3 separate regions of the Homo sapiens genome follow, and regions 1 and 3 are each linked to region 2. The links are contacts of gene promoters, found by promoter capture Hi-C in blood cells and fetal thymus (Javierre and others, 2016). All regions are on one chromosome and are shown on one strand. Each heading gives the region's core, a stretch centred on a gene start or on the middle of the fragment in contact. The rest is flanking DNA. Distances are from core to core; before and after follow the strand shown.

Region 1 (3,544 bases), core at 767-3,266, 270 kb after region 2:
ATGGTCACCATGATTGTTGACTAAAGGAGAAAAAATCAAGCTTTCAAATAACTAAAGTTAGTTTTATTCTGAAGTCTTACTGAGGACTACAGATTGAGGCCTATAGCCTGGGAGCAGCTCTGTCAGGCTGCTCCAACACAGTGTTTCAGCTCACTGCTTGTGTACAGAGTGGGGGCTTAATATGCACAAGAGCACATCAAACATGCTCGGGAGTGACATTGAAGCAGAGTCCCGTCGAGGTCTGGTGGTAGAGTACATCTGCTTATAGATGACAGCGGCATCATCACGAACCCCTTCAGGTGTTGGTCATCTTATGTGTAGGAAGAGGCAATAATTTTTTTTTTTTTTTTTTTAGAGTCAGAGTCTTGCACTGTCATCCAGGCTGGAGCGCAGTGATTGATTTTTTTTAATTTAATCAACAATCATGGTGACCATGAGGGGACTCAGAGCCGATTCTCCAGGGTTGTCTGATCATAGCTCACTGTGTAACCTCAAACTCCTGAGCTCAAGTGATCCTCCTGCCTCAGACTCCCAAGCAGCTAGGCATGCACCACCATGCCCAGCTACTTAAAAAAAATTTTAAGGCCAAGCACTGTGGCTCATGCCTGTAATCCCAGCACTTTGGGAGGCCGAGGCAGGTGGATCACTTGAGGTCAGGAGTTTGAGATCAACCTGGCCAGTATGGTGAAACCCCATCTCTACTAAAAATATAAAAATTAGCTGGGTGTGATGGGGCATGCCTGTAATCCCAGCTACTCAGGAGACTGAGGCAGGAGAATCACTTGAACCCAAGATCACTTGAACTGCAGAGGTTGCAGTGAGCCAAGATCCTGCCACTGCACTCCAGCCTGGGTGACAGAGCTAGACTCTCTCAAAAATAAAAATAAAAATTTTAAAATAGAGACAGGGTCTTGCCATGTTGCCCAGGCTGGTCTCAAACCCTTGGCCTCAAATGATCATCCCACGTTGGCATCCCAAAGCACTGGGATTACAGGTGTGAGGCACCGCTCCTGGCAGGGGTCATGTTATCTTTGAAGGAATGTAGTGACTCAGGCAAGAGATGTGGGGGCCGTGCGCTCTGTCCTGCTTTGTCTTCAAAGCATCTTTCTGGAGAGCTACACATTGTGGAAGAGTCAGGGCTTTGTGAAATTATACTGCAAGCAGAAAGGAGCACACGTGGCTTCTTACATTTGCTACTTTGTTTTGCAAAAGTAACACTTGTGCATTAGAGAGGATTTGAAAAGGACAAAATACAGAAACTAAGGGGGAAAAATCCATCATCCCACTACTCAGAAACAACCACAGTTAATATTTTGGGATTTTTGTTTTGTTTTCTGTCCTTTTATTCTATTTAATTTTTTATTGTGGTAAAATCACATACTATAAGATGTACCATCCTAACCATCTTTAGGTGTGCAGTTCATGCTTCGTAGTTTTCAGTTTATACACCTGACGTCTCTTTTGTCAAATTTATCCTTAGTATTTCATACTAGGTGATGCCTTTGTGGGTGGTGTTTTAAAATTTCTCAATTTCCAATTGTTTCTTGCAAGTAAATAAAAATACAATTGATTTATCTGGGCGTGGTGGCTCACACCTATAATCCCAGCACTTTGGGAGGCTGAGGCAGGCGGATTACCTGAGGTCAGGAGTTCGAGACGAGCCTGGCCAGCATGGTGAAACCCTGTCTCTACTAAAAATACAAAAATTATCCGGGCATGATGGTGGGCACCTGTAATCCCAGCTACTTGGGAGGCTGAGGCAGGAGAATCTCTTGAACCTGGGAGGCGGAGGTTGCAGTGAGCTGAGATCGTTCCATTGCACTCCAGCCTGGGCGACAAGAGCAAAAATCTGTCTCCGAAAAAAAAAAAAAAAAAAAAAAAAGCGGTTGATTTTTGTTTAATGCTCTTATATCCCACAACCTTGCTAAATTCCCTTACTTGTTCTGGCTTCTGTCTTTTAGAAAACTGACACGAGCTCTGCTAATGATGGAGGTGTTGCCTGAGTCATCCAAGCCAACCTGCTGTTTCCTAGACATGAAATTGCCGGGTTGCAGGACAATGAAGCATTTTGAATAAGCGCTGCCAAACTACTTCCAAAAAGAGCTGCTGACTTCTACTACAGTACGGGCATTCCTGTCTTCCCCATCCCGCTAGGCAGGCTGTGGGATTTGGGGCAGAGCCATGGGGCTGTCTGTGAAACAGCTCCCGGTCCTGCACCTGGCTCTGCACTACGAGCGTCATCCTCACGGCTTTTCCAGGCATCCTGTGGGCGATTTATCTGAGTGTCAACAAATGGAAAGAGGGTTCTGTGTGAGTTCCTGTCCTATAGCATGGAGTGTCATGTTAAAGGACACTTTTTGTGCCGTTGTCTAAATACAAATGGCTGCAGGCATTGAACTAATGGACTTTGGACAGAGTCAAGCAACTCCATAGTGAGGGACGAGGAGGCGACTTCCCCCACCTGGTTCTCGCCCTCCTGTCAGTCCTTGCTGGCCAGGGCCCAGTCCATCGCATTCTGCTCACCCACCTAACCTCCGCAGCTGGGCGGCCTTTCATCCTGCTTGATTGAATGGTATGAAATTGCCTCTTTTTCGTCAAAACAGCCACCTGTCAGCAATTCCGTGCAGTTCAACCAAATTATTGAAGTGCAGCTGATGCTCAGTGTCAATTTTCTCCGCACGCGGTTCCCTGGCCGAGCAGCCCCTCAGGGCCCAAGCATGGGAAACAGAGGGGCCCTCCTTACAGCGGCCTTTCCTGACCAAGTGCATCCTAACCTGAGCAGCTAGAGGGGCAGGGAGACCTCACCTTCCTCATCCTTCTTCCTCTCCTCTGGAAATAGCAGAACCTTCCAGTGGCTTTCCACCTTATTCAGAGAAAAAGCCCAAGTCCTCAAAGGTCACCCCACGGTCCAGCTCCCCGACCTCCACCCTGCCCTGGCTCCTGCTGGCTCCTTGGGCGGCCTCCAGGTGAGTGCACTTGCCTGCTCCCTCGCGTCTGAAAGCCTCTGCCTGTTGCCCAGCACCCCTCCCTGGTCGCGGGAGTGTCTCTGTGATTCACAGCCCCACGGTGCCTCTCATTGCTGGAGCTGTTTATTGTCTGTCTGCCCCCAGAACCCAAGGTCCAGTAGGGCAGAGACAGACTGGATTTCCCCTGTCCTGTCCCCAGGTGTGACCTGGTATGTTGCAGACACCCAGCAGATACTGCATGCACGAATGGATGAATATCAACGTCAAATTACTTTTCATAAAAGTTCCCTTTTCGGCTGGGCATGGCGGCTCACACCTGTAATCCCAGCACTTTGGGAGGCCAAGGCAGGTGGATCACCTGAGGTCAGAAGTTCAAGACCAGCCTGGTCAACATAGTGAAACCCTGTCTCTACTAAAAATACAAAAATTAGCTGGGCATGGTGGGGGTTGCCTGTAATCCCAGCTACTCGCAAGGCTGAGGCAGGAGAATCGCTTGAACCCATGAGGCGGAGGTTGCAGTGGGCTGAGATTGTGCCATTGTGCTCCAGCCTGGGCAACAAGAGCAAAACTTTGTCTCA
Region 2 (3,809 bases), core at 135-2,634:
ATTTTGTTTTGGTCAACTTTCAGTGACAAATCCTTCTCCTGACAGCTGCCCCACCTGGTTGGGAGGACACCACCCCCCCTGGGGACCTTGCTTTCCCTCCCGCTTCTTGCCACCTTCAGCCTGGGGTGGGAGGCACTGGGGAGAGCTAAGGGAAGTGTGTTGCCTTGCCTCCTTCCTGGCCTTGGAAGACCTCTCTACAGAGCCCAGCGGCCCACGGTTCTGGAAGCAAGAAGGGTGCAGGTCCACCTTGGTGCTCGTCCAGGGCCATGGGGAAGAGAGCCTCCTGAGTCCAGCCATCTGTTTCTCATCAGTCCCCACTCAGCCCTCCCCTGAGGCTGCTCATCACGACCAGCCTGGAGTTTTCAGAGACAGCGGCCTCAGGCGGGCTGGGGACAGGAGAGTAGCCTCGGCCAGGGTTTCCTTCCGCTTACCCAGTCCTGAGTCTGCAGTCCCTGCTGAACGCTGCTCTGGATACTGGGCTGGCCCCAGGCTGCTATCAGGCCCAGTGGGGGCCGCCTGTGCTCTTGGGAGAGGTGCGACTCCAGCTTCTTCCCCCGGGGGGACAGTTTCCTGCTGTCCATCTCTAGCCCTAGTAGGCTGCTTGTCCACACCTCTGAGATCTGGGGGTAGGAGCAGGGGGAGGTGGGGCGGGGCCCACAAGGCCACCCACGTGCCCACCAATACCTGAGTCCCTGGGGGCAGATGGTGGCAGTATCGCGGTCTGCTAGGGTCACCTTCCAGCCAAAGGTCAGGCATCACTGACCCCTCTGGGTGGAGTGGATCCCCCAGCTCCCGCCGCAGCTCTTCTCCACACCAGCCTCCCGAACTGTCCTCTCTGCCCCTGCCGACCCCACCCCGGGAGCCTGGAAAGCCTTCGGCAGCCTGCTGCACGGACTCCACGCCTCTGCCAGCCTTCTCAAACGTTCCAGGGGCATCAGCCCTCAGCCAGCACTGCGGGCACGCTCTCAGGGCCCGGCCTTGCTACGCCCGGGGCGAAGGAAAGGCCCAGAGCTCTTGCCACAGCCCCGCTTCCGACCCTGAGACCTCCCCTCCACGCGGCCCAGGCCTCGCCCCAGGCCCAGCCCGGAGCCCTTACGTGCCCGCCCTCTCCGGTGGGGAGGCGGGGTCTGCGCGGCCGGGGTCCGCGGAGGGACGGGGGAAGAAGGCTCAGGACACACGCTGGAGGCCGTGGGCACTCTGGGGTTCGGCGGGGGGGCGGGGTACACGGGAACGGCGGTCGGAGGTGGGGGGTACGTGGGCACCCGGAGACAGAAGGAGGGACAGACCCGCCGCGGATGGAGAGGCCACAGGGGGCCGCTGGAGTACACCGCGGCTTGAGGGGGCCCAAGGGGCCGGCGCCTCGCTCCAGAACGTCCGCTACGGCAAGCCCCGCCCCCACCGGTTCCGCTTCCGGTCTGCGCCGCGCCTGCGTTCTGGGCTCCGTTGCGGCGGGTGGGGGATGGGCGCGGTCTGGGGGTCCCCGGCGCATATCCGGGTCTATGGCCGCTACCGCCCCACGGGCCCTTCCGGGCGTCGGCCTCCGGGGTCTCCCGAAGCACAGACCTGAACTTGGGGTTTGTCGGCCAGAGCCCCTTTCGGCCCTGCGCCCTTCAAGCGGCGCGATGCCGCTGAGCCCCGGGCCACCTCCGCGCGCGCGGGGCCGCAGGGCTGGGGCGGGGCGACCCAGGACGGGGCGCGCGGGCGGGAGGGAGGCGCTGCTCCGCCGCGTGCTCCCAAGGGGTGGACGGCCGAGAGAATCACACTGCAGGCGGGGGCCGGCCCCTCCAGGTTTATTAGTGTTGCATCAGCACCTTGAAATAGTCCACACGGTCACATACGTGACATTAGAATCCGTTCCCCAAAAAGCTATTTACATTAATCCAGGGTTTCATTAAAAAAAACTAGCAACACATACATCCTAGAAACCAAACAATGCACAATGAACCGCATGGGGGTCTGCAGAAACTACAGTGGTGCTTCTTTGGCCCACAGGGTCAGATTCCAGAGGTGCCCAGCAAGCCCAGCTCTCAGTCCCCTACAGGCCACACACCCGCGGACGGCAGGACAGGTCTCGGGGAGGGGGCGGCCTGGCCCTCGGAAGAAGTGGCCTGGTCATTTTCATGAGGAATTCATTCCCGGAGGAAGGCGAGAGGCACTCAGGTCTTTCCATCTGGGAATGAGGACAGTGTGGCAAGGCTGCCAGTACCCTGCAGAGACACCCCCAGCTCTCACCCAGAGGCCCCTCTCCTGCCCCAGCTCTGGCCGAGGCACTGAACCAGGACACTGGCTTGCATGCCCAGAGACAGTGGCCAAGGGGACCAACATGGAAGAGGAAGGCAGCAGACCAGATTGCAGGGCGGGACTGGCCCACAGCTGGCCTGGGTGAGGGTGGGGTCTGTCTACGTAATAGTGGACAGTGGCCACCAGGCCTGAGGGGTGCCTCGGTGGTGACTGGTGGCTTAACCTTTGAGACTGATGGGGCTGAGCCCTAGCTCTACAAGGGGCTGCCTCCTGTCCTGTGAGGCCAGTCCAGGGCCAGGTTCTCGGGGGGTGTGCACACCTCACACACACATCCCCCGCCCTTACCGCACTGGCTGTCAGATGGCTTTGGTTTCTAGTTGTCCTTGGTGGGACAGAGTGCTCCTCCATGCACCCTCAGAACAGCTCTGTGAGGTAGGCAGGGAAAATGCGACCATCCTGTGTAACCAGTGGGAAAACCGAGGCACAGAGGGCTGGCATGGCCCAGGTCTTGTCTGCCCAACCTCCCTGGTGCTGGGCATGGTGTGGGGGATGGACCGTGGGGCTCCTGGGTGCAGGGCAGACCCACAGCCCAGCAGCAGCAGGGGCACAGGGAGTGCCACCAGAACCCCCAGCTGCTGGATGGAGACTCTGCCCATGTTCTCCCCTTGCGTGGCTAAGGATGGAGCTGTGCAGCCAGATGGGAGGTACGGGGTAGGCAGGAGGGCTCCAGGAAAGGGGCTGCCCACAGCCAGGATGCACTAGGCAGCCTGTGGCCCCTTCCTCTAAAACCTGCTCTGAGGCCAGAAAGCCACAGCAAGGATGTTTCCACCTTCATCTCCCTACTGAGTGTGACCCTTGGGAAAGAAACAGGAAGAGCAGGCAGGACGCGGTGACTCACGCCTGTAATCCCAGCACTTTGGGAGGCCGAGGCGGGTGGATCACTTGAGGTCAGGAGTTCAAGACCAGCCTGGCCAACATGGCAAAACCCCATCTCTACTAAAAATACAAAAAAAATAGCCAGGTGTGGTGGCACACGCCTGTAATCCCAGCTACTCGGGAGGCTGAGGCAGGAGAACTGCTTGAACCTGGGAGACGGAGGCTGCAGTGAGCTGAGATCATGCCACTGCACTCCAGCCTGGGCAACAGAGCAAGACTCCATCTCAAAAAAAAAAAAAAAAAAAAAGAAAAGAAACTGGAGAGCAGAAAAACAGATGCTCTGCAGCCCAGCTTGGGGGCAGCTGAACGAGTCAGTCAGGGTCCCACCTGTTGCCGGGGTCAGAGGCCATCAGCCCGGGGCTCACACCCTCACCGCAGACACTTCTCGGGGCAGAGCCTGAAGCCAGGATTCAATGGGAGACCTTCCTACCCTCTCCCCCACCCTGGGGTGTGCCCCAGGCTCCTGGTCCCAGGTGAAGGAGGAGTCCCTGGTGTGGAGGGGCTCTGGCTGGGAGGGGCTGGGGCTCTGCCTCCTGCACACAGGCTACCTCTGAGGCCTGAACCCAGGGAGCTGAGGCTGCACACCAGGCCACATCCTGGCCCCTCACCACAACAAAATCACCCTGTTCAGC
Region 3 (3,789 bases), core at 828-3,327, 380 kb after region 2:
AAACTCATAGGCAGGTGAGGGAACAGGAGAGCTTTACAGTGGAATCCAGGGAAGCTCAGGGATGGCTGATGGAGGCTGCTGACTTGGGGGACTGGGGTGGCCAGTTAGAAGTGGGGCTCCTGGCCTGGCACGGTGGCTGACGCCTGTAGTCCCAGCACTTTGGGAGGCCAAGGTGAGTGGATCACCCGAGGTCAGGAGTTTTGAGACCAGCCTGACCAACATGGTAAGTCTCTACTGAAAATATAAAAATTAGCCAGGCCTGGTGGTACACCCTTGTAATCCCAGCTACTCGGGAGGCTGAGGCAGGAGAATCCCTTGAACCTGGGAGGCGGAGGTTGCGGTGAGCTGAGATTGCGCCACTGCACTCCAGCCTGGGCGACACAACAACAACAACAAAGAAGTGGGGCTCCTGTGAGATGGCCTAGAACATGTTTGGCTTTCTCTGGTTGGTCCTAAATTGGAAGCAGGGACAAAAACTGGAGAGGTTGTCGGTTACTAATCATGTCCTGGCCATTTTGGGCTGCTTGCTATGGAAATGATTGTTTAGCTTCCTGGATTGTTCCTAGAGAAAGCAGCCAGGCTTCCTGCAGGTCTGACTAGGGCAACCTGGCTTCCTGGCCCGTTACTGAAGGTAAAGGGCTGGTTTCCGACTGATGGCGGCAGATAATGGCTGAGAGTTCTGTTTCTGTATGTGGTTCCGCCATTGTTTGTTGGTATATTCCCTCGCTCAGAGCAGATGTTATTAGGGTGATTTCTGACGGTCACGTATTGCTAGTGCTGCCCTTAGGACCGCTGACAGCACCAGGCCAAGCACTGAATTCATCCTCTTAAGATCCCCAGTGGGAGGCTTCTAGTATCCATATCTGGCTTTCAGAAAAGGGCGGGAGGGTCTGTCGTTGGGTTTGGACTCAGGACCTGGCATTTCTAAGGACTCAGAGGAAAGGAAAGTGGGACCCAGAGGGTCCTAGGAGCTTGGGACAGCTTCTTGAACTGGTTCCCAGTGTGGTTGTGGGTCTTCTTGGCCTGTCCCATTGGTATTCTTGTTCCTTCTGTGAGTTGCCCTGATTGCCCTGCTCAGTCGTGCTGACCTCCTGTAGGCCCCACATTATGGGGGTTGTGCTGCTGGGTTTCCAGAGTCAGGGGAGGCAGCCAGGGGTTCTTCTGTCTATAAACTTGGGCTTAATGCATGCTGTTCAAGAGGATTTGGTTTGGGTCCTAAATTAATCCATTGCTATGCAGGCTTGGGATTGAGATAGGTTGAAAGAGAAACTAAAAACCTAAAAGGTATATTGACTTCCCACAGAGGAACCCGTGGGACTTAATCTTTTCCCCAACGCAGGGTGTCCTTTGTAGTTTGACATAGCCTTATGTTAATTCTCGATATACTTAGCAATTTTAAGCCAGTGATTTAAACAATGGATTGGGATGGAAAAGCTCTGAAAAGTTAAATTTGTGGCTGACACAAAGAACTCGAATATTTACCAAAAGTAATAGAAATGTGTAAATGTGTTTTGGTGGTAAACTGTCCTTCATTTAGAATTAGTTGAGAAGCTGGTGTATGCAGGTGTGAGAGGCGGTGCCCAGCCTGAGGGCTGTGCCTGTGGTGACACTGGCATGCTGCTCTGGGGAAATGGGTGCTGTAGGGGAAATAAGCTAGGGTTAGGGAAGTTTTCCTTTAATTTTAATTTTGAAATAATTGTAGAGCCAGGGGAGGTTGCAGAGCAGTGTTCAGGAGGTCCTATGTGCCCTTCCTCTGCTCCCCAGGGCCGGCATCCTTGTAGGATGCACAGCCAGGCCCCAGGTCCGTGTGATGACACGGCTGCCGCAGGCGCATGTGTGCGTGTCCGGCGCTGTGCAGTCAGGGTAGGGCCACCCCCACAGCCCAGGAGCAGAAGGGCCCTCACCCCCAAGATCTCCCTGCGCAGGTTCCTTTCTAGCCCTGCCACCCCTCAGCTCTGGGTCAGCATGACAATGTGGCATAAATGGGATCCCATAGCAAGCACCCTTCTGAGGTTGGCTTTTCTCCCTCAGCCTAATGCCCCTGTGGAAGGATCCGTCCTGTGTATCAACAGTTCATTTCTTTCTATTGCAGAGTAGGATTTGGTGGCATGAATGGAGCAGAGTGTGTGTCACCGTGCCCAGGTGAAGGGTACATTTTCCTTGTTTCAGATTTGGAGCTACTACAAATAAAGCTGCTGTGCACATTCTGGAACATGTTTTTTGCATGAACATTGGCTTTTTCTCTGGGATAAATGCCCAAGAGGTCACTTAGTTTTTTAAAATTTACATGTGTTAAAGGCACGGGGATGAGATCTGTGACACTGAAGGGAAATTCAGAGAACAGGGGGACCCTTTCTTCTGTTAATTCAAGGGTAGGACCAGCAGGTGGGAGCCTCCAGAGGGGCTCCTGGGAAGGGGTATGTTTGGCAGCCAGTTCTCCCGCACTGCAAAACTTCCCATCCTTGGTCTCCAGACCCCGAGCAGAGACAGCATGTGCCTCCCATACGCCAGCTTTCCAAGAGCACCTGGGTATACCCTGGTCACAGGGAGCCATCAGATTGACTAAGAGAAAAAGAAGTTCCAAAGTTTGCATATTCAAAAGATTGTAACCCTATTTATGCATAACTTGAATTATTTGAAATAATATTTCACTACATTACAAGCATGAGAAGAGAGAAACTTAATCATGCGTGAGATGCTTGTCCTGTCAGACTCTGCCGGCCAGTATGGCCCTGAGCCAGCTGTCATCCTCCCAGCTCCCCGCAGGCGGCACTGGCTCAGAATGGCATCTGTCAAAAGCCAGAGCCCACCCTCCTGTCTGCTCTGCCTTTAGTGCCCCAGAGATGTCCCAATTTAGAATCAGTTAAAAAAAAAAAAAAACAGTTTGCACAGACTTGTACTTCTGAGAGTAGACATGGCCAATGTCCATCTAGTGCATCTGTGCTGTGCGTCTTAGTGGAACCTGCCCAGCAAGGCTGAGCCTTAGGTGCCATCCCGGAGTTGCCCAGGTCTGGGGTAAGATCCAGGAATCTGCATCTTCAACCAACAGCGCCAGTGCTGAGGCATACGCCGAGAAACACTGCCTTGGCCAGCTCTGGGCTGCCACAACACACTGGTGAGGAACCCACCCCCCCTGCCCCGGACACACACATACCCTGCCATGTTTTGGTTCCTTTGAAGAGAAAGGAGTTGAGATGAGAGGGGAGGTGGCCCCTGAGGCCATGGTTGTACGGGCTGGTCAGAGCTCTCGAGTGGAGGGCATTGACCTGAGAGATGTCAAGTAGAAAGCAGCCAGGCAGAGCCTGTGCACCTTGGGAGAAATGAACTGGTGGGGCGGGTGGGGGGAGCCAAGGAATGGGTGTGATCCCTAAGGCAGGCAGCATGGGCGGGTGTGGGAGCAAGGGACTGTCCAGGGCCACATAGGCTCGGCCAGGAGACCCTGTGTCCCTTGGAGAATTGTGCACGAAACACAGACCACTCGCTGCATGGGATGAGCATACAGCCCTGCAGTCCTTCCCCTGCGCGTTCCTGGTGGCACAGCTTTCCAGCCCGGCTGTCTGCGACATATAGAGGCTTTTAGTGAAAGCATTGAGGGGGAAGGCACTAACTCTTCTGAACGCAGAAGTGACTTTGTCCGAGGCAGGATCCTGAGGGAAGTCAGAATGGTACGTGTGTGTGCCCGGCCCTGTCCGGCCCCCGCCCTGCGCCCTCTGCAGGCTGGCACGGTTCACATTAATCTCATGTTACCCCAGGGTCTCTTCTTTTGTACACACCACAGTTAGATTTTTG

The links. Contacts are between HindIII fragments. The CHiCAGO score rates a contact against its expected background, and 5 or more counts as called.
Region 1: a contact is called between a fragment that was not itself captured here and the fragment with the promoter of TEX22 in region 2, in 1 of 17 cell types (endothelial precursors). The highest score is 5.2, in endothelial precursors.
Region 3: a fragment that was not itself captured here is called in contact with the fragment with the promoter of TEX22 in region 2 in 1 of 17 cell types (monocytes); the score reaches 5.4 in monocytes.

The regions. Positions count from the first base shown.
Region 1 is chr14:105,125,777-105,129,320 of GRCh38, reverse strand. No RefSeq gene overlaps it. Among named protein-coding and RNA genes, the nearest start is that of MIR6765, 23 kb to the left of the region's middle. The HindIII fragment of the contact is 3,947 bases long and covers 43-3,544 here.
Region 2 is chr14:105,396,113-105,399,921 of GRCh38, reverse strand. TEX22 (testis expressed 22) reads right to left here and starts at 1,384. Exons shown (of 4, transcript NM_001195082.2): 1 at 1,287-1,384; 2 at 432-620. The coding sequence starts at 581. PACS2 (phosphofurin acidic cluster sorting protein 2) reads right to left here. Exons shown (of 25, transcript NM_001100913.3): 25 at 1,775-3,809. RefSeq lists enhancers at 273-783, 784-1,294 and a silencer at 962-1,871. The HindIII fragment of the contact is 23,339 bases long and covers 1-3,809 here.
Region 3 is chr14:105,012,292-105,016,080 of GRCh38, reverse strand. All of the region lies in intron 1 of CDCA4 (cell division cycle associated 4), which reads left to right. Among named protein-coding and RNA genes, the nearest start is that of CDCA4, 6.9 kb to the left of the region's middle. The HindIII fragment of the contact is 5,093 bases long and covers 1-3,789 here.